Regions from separate parts of the Homo sapiens genome. Here region 1 is linked to region 2. Evidence: promoter capture Hi-C in human tissues and cell types (Jung and others, 2019). All regions are on one chromosome and are shown on one strand. The core of a region is centred on a gene start or on the middle of the fragment in contact, and the rest is flanking DNA. Distances in the headings are between cores, read along the strand shown. Region 1 overlaps C16orf96 (chromosome 16 open reading frame 96). Region 2 holds the start of CDIP1 (cell death inducing p53 target 1).

Region 1 (3,122 bases), core at 227-2,726, 34 kb before region 2:
AAGGAAGAACGGGTTCCAAATCCAGTGTTTCCCAAGGAGTGGGAAAGGGTTCCATGGGCAAACAAGTTTGGGAAATGCTGGGCTTGAAAGCATGTCAGGCCGGGCACAGTGTCTCATGCCTGTAACCCCAGCACTTTGAGAGGTCAAGGTGGGTGGATAACTTGAGGTCAGGAGTTCGACAGCAGCCTGGCCAACATGGTGAAACACCGTCTCTACTAAAAATACAAAAATTAGCTGGGCCTGATGGCATGCGCCTGTAATCCCAGCTATCAGGAAGCTGAGGCAGGAGAATCACTTGAATCCAGGAGGCAGAGGTTGCAGTGAGCTGAGATGGCGCCACTGCACTCCAGCCTGGGCAACAGAGTGAGACTTTGTCTCAAAAATAAGTAAATAAATAAATAAATAAAAAACATTTCAACAGGTTTCTGTACGGCAGGACTTCCCAGAGCCTTGAATGAGCAAAAGCACATTAAGAATCTCCAAGAGGGCCGGGCACAGTGGCTCATGCCTGTAATCCCAGCACTTTGGGATGCTGAGGCGGGTGGATCATGAGTTCAGGAGTTCGGGACCAGCCTGACCAATGTGGTGAAGCCCCCACCTCCACTAAAAACACAAAAATTAGCTAGGCGTGGTGGCTTGCACCTGTAATCCCAGCTACTCAGGAGGCTGAGGCAGGAAAATCACTTGAACCCGGGAGGCAGAGGTTGCAGTGAGCTGAGATCGTGCCACTGCACTCCAGCCTGGGTGACAGAGAGAGACTCCGTCTCAAAAAGAATACAAAACAAAACAACAACAACAAAAACACCTCCAAGAGACAGGCCAATAAGGCATTGTTTTTCTTTTCTTTTTTCTTTTTTTTTTTTTTTTGAGACAGAGTCTCACTCTGTTGCCCAGGCTGGAGTGCAGTGGTGTGATCTCGGCTCACTGCAAGCTCCACTTCCCAGGTTCACACCATTCTCCTGCCTCAGCCTCCTGAGTAACTGGGACTACAGGTACCTGCCACCACATCCAGCTAATTTTTTGTATTTTTAGTAGAGATGGGGTTTCACCGTGTTAGCGAGGATGGTCTCGATCTCCTGACCTTGTGATCTGCCCACCTCAGCCTCCCAAAATGCTGAGATTACAGGCGTGAACCACCATGCCGCCCCACCGACCCCACCTTTTTTTTTTTTTTTTTTTTGAGACGGAGTCTTGCTCTGTCACCCAGGCTGGAGTGCAGTGGCGCAATCTTGGCTCACTACAATCTCCACCTCCTGGGTTCAAGTGATTCTCGTGCCTCAGCCTCCTGAGTAGCTGGGGTTACGGGTGCCTGCAACCACACCCAGCTAATTTTTGTATTTTTAGTGGAGACGGGGGTTTTACCATGTTGGCCAGGCTGGTCTCGAACTCCTGACCTCAGGTGATCCGCCTGCTTTGGCTTCCCAAAGTGCTGGGATTACAGGCGTGAGACACCAGGCCCCGCCGAGAAGGCATGGTTTCTCCAACAGCTTTGTCTAAGGGGCCCTTTTGAGTAGCTCATGATGCAGCTTTTAACAGCGTTCTTTCTGCTTAGATGGGAGCCATCCAGCCCATGCCTAAAGCTCCCACAGTTGCCATGATGATCAAATACAGGCCCTGATCTGTGAAGCCGGGATGATACAGAAAATTACACTATTTGGGGGAAGTTGTTAAACCTGGGGGTGTGGAGAGCTGGCTTCAGACCCCAGCTGTGACTCATCAGTTGTGACGGGGACAGCTGCCTCATGTCTCGGGGACTCCATGTCCTTCCATGCATGGTAGGGTGTTAGAAAATACTTGGCTGATGGTTTTTGGCTACAGAAGTACAGAAGGAGCTTGTATGTATGCCTGCACTATTATGATTATTCCACTTTCCATGTGGACAGAGCTTTCCAGAAGGGGAAGAGGTTTTCTTTTTGCTAGGTTGGTGGAATATAAGTCTGCTGTTGCCAAGACTTGAGGAGCACCTGCCTGAGAATGAAGCCAACTGGGAGGAAAGTTTCACTGAGAAACGTCAGTATTGCCGGATGTGGTGGCTCACGCCTGTAATCCTGGCACTTTGGGAGGCTGAGGCGGGCGGATCAAGAGGTCAGGAGATTGAGACCATCCTGGCTAACATGGTGAAACCCCATCTCTACTAAAAATACAAAAAAAATTAGCCGGGCATGGGGGCGGGCGCCTGTAGTCCCAGCTACTCGGGAGGCTGAGACAGGAGAATGGCGTGAACCCGGGAGGTGGAGGTTGCAGTGAGTCAAGATCGAGCCACTACACTCCAGCCTGGGCAACAGAGCGAGACTCCATCTCAAAAAAAAAAAGAAATATAAGTATTGCATGAGTACCTAGATCTGGCCGTCCCTGGACCTTTTAGTAAATGAGACAATAAATCCCTTATTTTGCCTAATCCAGGATGAACGTGATTTCTGTCACTTACAACTAACGTTTTAACACACTGGGGTAGAAAGCATGGAGGGGTCGGCCAGGTATGGTGGCTTACACCTGTAATCCCAGCACTTTGGGAGGCTGAGGTGGGTGGATCACGAGGTCAGAAGTTCGAGACCAGCCTGGCCAACAAGATGAACCCCTGTCTCTACTAAAAATACAAAAATTACCCAGATGTGGTGGTGCGTGCCTGTAATCCCAGCTACTCGGGAAGCTCAGGCAGGAGAATCACTTGAACCCGGGAGGCAGAGGTTGCCGTGAGCCAAGATCATGCCATTGCACTCCATCCTGGGCAACAGAGTGAGACTCTGTCTTAAAAAAAAAAAAGAAAAGAAAAGAAAGCATGGAGGGGTCACAGAGAAGTCGGTGGCACTGGCCAATTGGAGGGTCCACATGACCACACCCTCACAGCTGCACTCTTGGCCTAACAGTAAGCTTCCTAGATTTTCCTCATTGCTCCAACCCCCAGAGGCCTGAGCAACGCAGCTGGCATGGAGGATGCTGGGGGAGGGCCTACCTTGTCAAGCATGTTCTTCAGCATGTCCACTTCTTTTCTGAGGGCTGTGATGGTGACCTGGAGTGCATGAAGATCAGTGAGCAAGTCCTGCAGGGTCTGCATTGACTGCAAAAGAGGAGGAGAAAATGTGAAGCCGGGTATGGCTGGGGGAGAAGGTAAGTGAAGTGCA
Region 2 (3,176 bases), core at 502-3,001:
TGACCTCAAGTGATCTGCCTGCCTCGGCCTCCCAAAGTGCTGGGGTTACAGGCATGAGCCACCACGCCTGGCCAGAGTTCTTAAAATGACCTACAAATCTCAACATGACTTGGATCCAGCCTGCCCCACTGACATCCTCACCTTTCTGACTCTCTCACCCAAGGCAATCCCTCCCTCTGGAATGCCCTTCCAGAATAGAATGTCTTTTCAATTTCATGCCCCTGCCTCAGCATCGCCTCCTCTGAGAGGCCTTTTCTAACCAACCTGTCTAGTGGCACCACCCCGTAACTCTGTTAGGGCGTCCCTTCCTCTCCTTCACAGTCCTGGGCATTTTGTGGTTTCCTTGTATACTGTCTGTAACAAAGGAAGTACCTGAGCAAGTAGCCACCCAGTGGGTTCTTCTTCCTGGCTGCCCAGATAGAGCCAATGTATCAAGACAGGGGAACTGCAATAGAGAAAGAGTTTAATCCACACAGAGCTGGCTGAATGGGAGACCAAAGTTTCATTACTCAAATCAGTCTCCCTGGAAATTCAGAGCCTAGAGTTTTTAAAGGGTAATTTGGTAGATAAGCTGCCAAGGAGTAGGGAGTGCTGATTGGTGGGGTGGGAGATGAAATCACAGGGTGTTGAAGGATGCAAGAACTGGTTGAGTCAGATTACAGCTCTAGGTGGCCTTGGCTGGTGCATCAGACTGCAGGGTCAGAAAAACACCTAAGAGTACCAATCTTAGGTTTTACAATAGTGATATTATACCTAGGATCAACTGGGGAGGTTTAGAATCTTGTGGCCTCTGGGTGCATGACTCCTAAACCGTAATTTCTTTCTTTCTTTCTTTTTTTGAGATGGAGTCTCAGTCTCTTGCTCAGGCTGGAGTGCAGAGGCATAATCTCAGCTCACTGCAACCTCCATCTCTCGGGTTCAAGCAATTTTTGGGCTTCAGCCTCCCTAGTAGTTGGGATTACAGGTGCGTGCCACCATACCCGGCTAATTTTTGTATTTTTAAATAGAGACATGGTTTCACCATGTTGGCCAGGCTGGTCTCAAACTCCTGACCTCAAGTGATCCACCTGCGTCAGCCTTCCAAAGTGCTGGGATTACAGGCGTTAGCCACTGAGCTGGGCCCTAAACTATAATGTCTAATCTTGTAGCTAACGTGTTACTCTTACAAAGGAAGCCTGGTTCTCAGGCAACAAGGGGGTTTGTTTTGGGAAAGGGCTGTTAACTATCTTTGTTTCAATATTAAACTATAAACTAAGTTGCTCCCAAAGTTAGTTCTGCCTATGCCTAGGAATGAACAAGGACAACCTGGAGGTTAGAAGCAAGATGGAGTGGGTTAGGTCAGCTCTCTTTCACTGTCATAATTTTCTGTTGTAATTTTTGCAAAGGCAGTTTCAAGCGCAGGGACAGTGACCGTGTGGTTCAAGGTTTTATGTAATGCACCTCCCAAACTCAATAAATATTAGTCGCATAAAAGAAAAAATGCAGCCCTGGAGGAAGATGCCCTGCCCTGTTGCTGGCATGAGTGAAGAGGAGGCGCTCACAGGGACGGTTCTTTCCCTATTCTCCAGCCTCGTGTACATTGGGCAAACAGGCCCCGACCATCCCACGTGCTCAGCCCCAGCTCTAGGCCAAATCGCCTCCGCTCCCACTGACGTCATCACGGCGCATCACGTGCCTCCCGAGACCCCACCCCCCACCGTGACGTCCCGGGCCTCGGCCCTGGTCCAAAGTCTACCCGCCTCCTTGTGACAGAAGTGCGACTGCCAGCTGCCGAGGCGTTCGGTCCTGCTGTTGCGGCCGCTGCCCCAGGGCTGCGGGGACGGTGAGTCGACTGGACGCATTCGGAGACGGCTTCGCGCGGGAGCCCTCCTCCCCGGGGGAAGGGTCTGGGCGCCAGCTCTCCTCAGGTCGGGGCGTGACCTCGGACCGTGGCGCCCCCTCCCCGCCCCCGCCCGCGGCGCCTGGGCGGTGCATGCCGGGCACCGTAGTCCCCAGCCTCTCAGAGCGGGTTGTGGTGGGGGGGGTGACCGGGCGGACTACAAGTCCTAGAAGCCTCTGGGCGGTGGGGTGGGCGGTGGGTTGGGGGGTTTCGTTGTGCGCGCAAAGCCGCGCGGGGCTGAGGGTCTTGTTCTGCCGGCGCCTGTCCGGACCCGGGCCCCTCTCCGCTTTCGGCCGGCCTCGGGCACCGGGCTTCTGGAGGTAAAGCGGGGCCGGCGGTTGGGGCGCGGCATGGCGGGGCCCGTCCTCCCCTCAGGGCGCTGCCGAGACCTAGCGCGGCCCTGGGGATGTCGAAGCCGCTGCGGTGGCGGGGCCCGGGCGGGCGCCCCGCTGTGTGCCGCGGGGTTGTGCGCCCGGAATGGCAGCCTGCTCGCCCGCACGTTTTTCCGTCAGGGAAGGTTGTGGAAATTGCCATCTCCGTCTTGCAGGGCGAGACGGGGAGGGGAGGGGTGGGAGTTGTTTTCTCAAGGAAAGGGGGTCGAGGAGGAGCCCCGTGGCCGAGCCAGCCCCTGCCGAGCCCCGCGGGTGACCTTGGCCGTCCCGGAGCCCAGCAGTGTCCTGCACCCGCGCCCGGCTCGCCGACGTGTGGAGTCGGGATGTGGCGCTCGGCCGCGCATCCCCGGCGGAGATGGCGACGGCCTGGCCTAGCTTGGGGCTAGGAGTCGCGCCTTCGAGGACCTTGGCTTAGCGAGTTCCTTGGGGGGCTTCTCAACAGGTGTTAGATGAGGTGGGGCGAGTGGCTGTGAGTTCCTCCAAAGGTGGGCTCAAGATCCTCTGCGTCAGAACCACCTGGGGCTCTTGGGAAACGGGCAGATTCCTGGGGCCCACCCCAGGTGTTGGGATGCTGTAGTTCCGTCGCGCTGCCCAGGAATCTGCATTTAGTAGGCTCCCCAGATCATTCCCGGGCGCAGCTGGGGCTGAGAACCTGTCCCAGTGAGGGGGTTGGCGGGCCCGGGGGCAGGGACGTTCCATAGTGTTTCTGCCAGTTTCTTCTGTATTCTGGGGCCTGATGCTGGGCGGGGCGGTGCCCGGGCAAGTTACTGCTCTCCTGGGTTCTTTGCTGCTTCCCTTGGGGCCGATCTAGGTAGAACTGGGTGGAGGGAGGCGTGCCAGCTCTGCCTTGCCCTCTGCCCTTAATCGGAAAGGTTATGCCCAGTCACTTGCCAGTCTCAGAAGAC

Evidence for each region. The method cuts DNA at HindIII sites, captures the fragments that hold promoters and counts their contacts. A contact is called where the count stands out against the background at its distance.
Region 1: a fragment that was not itself captured here is called in contact with the fragment with the promoter of CDIP1 in region 2 in 1 of the 25 tissues and cell types used here (mesenchymal stem cells).

The regions. Positions count from the first base shown.
Region 1 is chr16:4,571,497-4,574,618 of GRCh38, reverse strand. It overlaps C16orf96 (chromosome 16 open reading frame 96), which reads right to left. Exons shown (of 16, transcript NM_001145011.2): 2 at 2,954-3,058. Among named protein-coding and RNA genes, the nearest start is that of C16orf96, 17 kb to the right of the region's middle. The HindIII fragment of the contact is 3,047 bases long and covers 1-2,999 here.
Region 2 is chr16:4,537,348-4,540,523 of GRCh38, reverse strand. It overlaps CDIP1 (cell death inducing p53 target 1), which reads left to right and starts at 1,751. Exons shown (of 6, transcript NM_013399.3): 1 at 1,751-1,822. It also overlaps a transcript of C16orf96 not described here. RefSeq lists silencers at 1,835-2,124, 2,135-2,354. The HindIII fragment of the contact is 9,452 bases long and covers 1-3,176 here.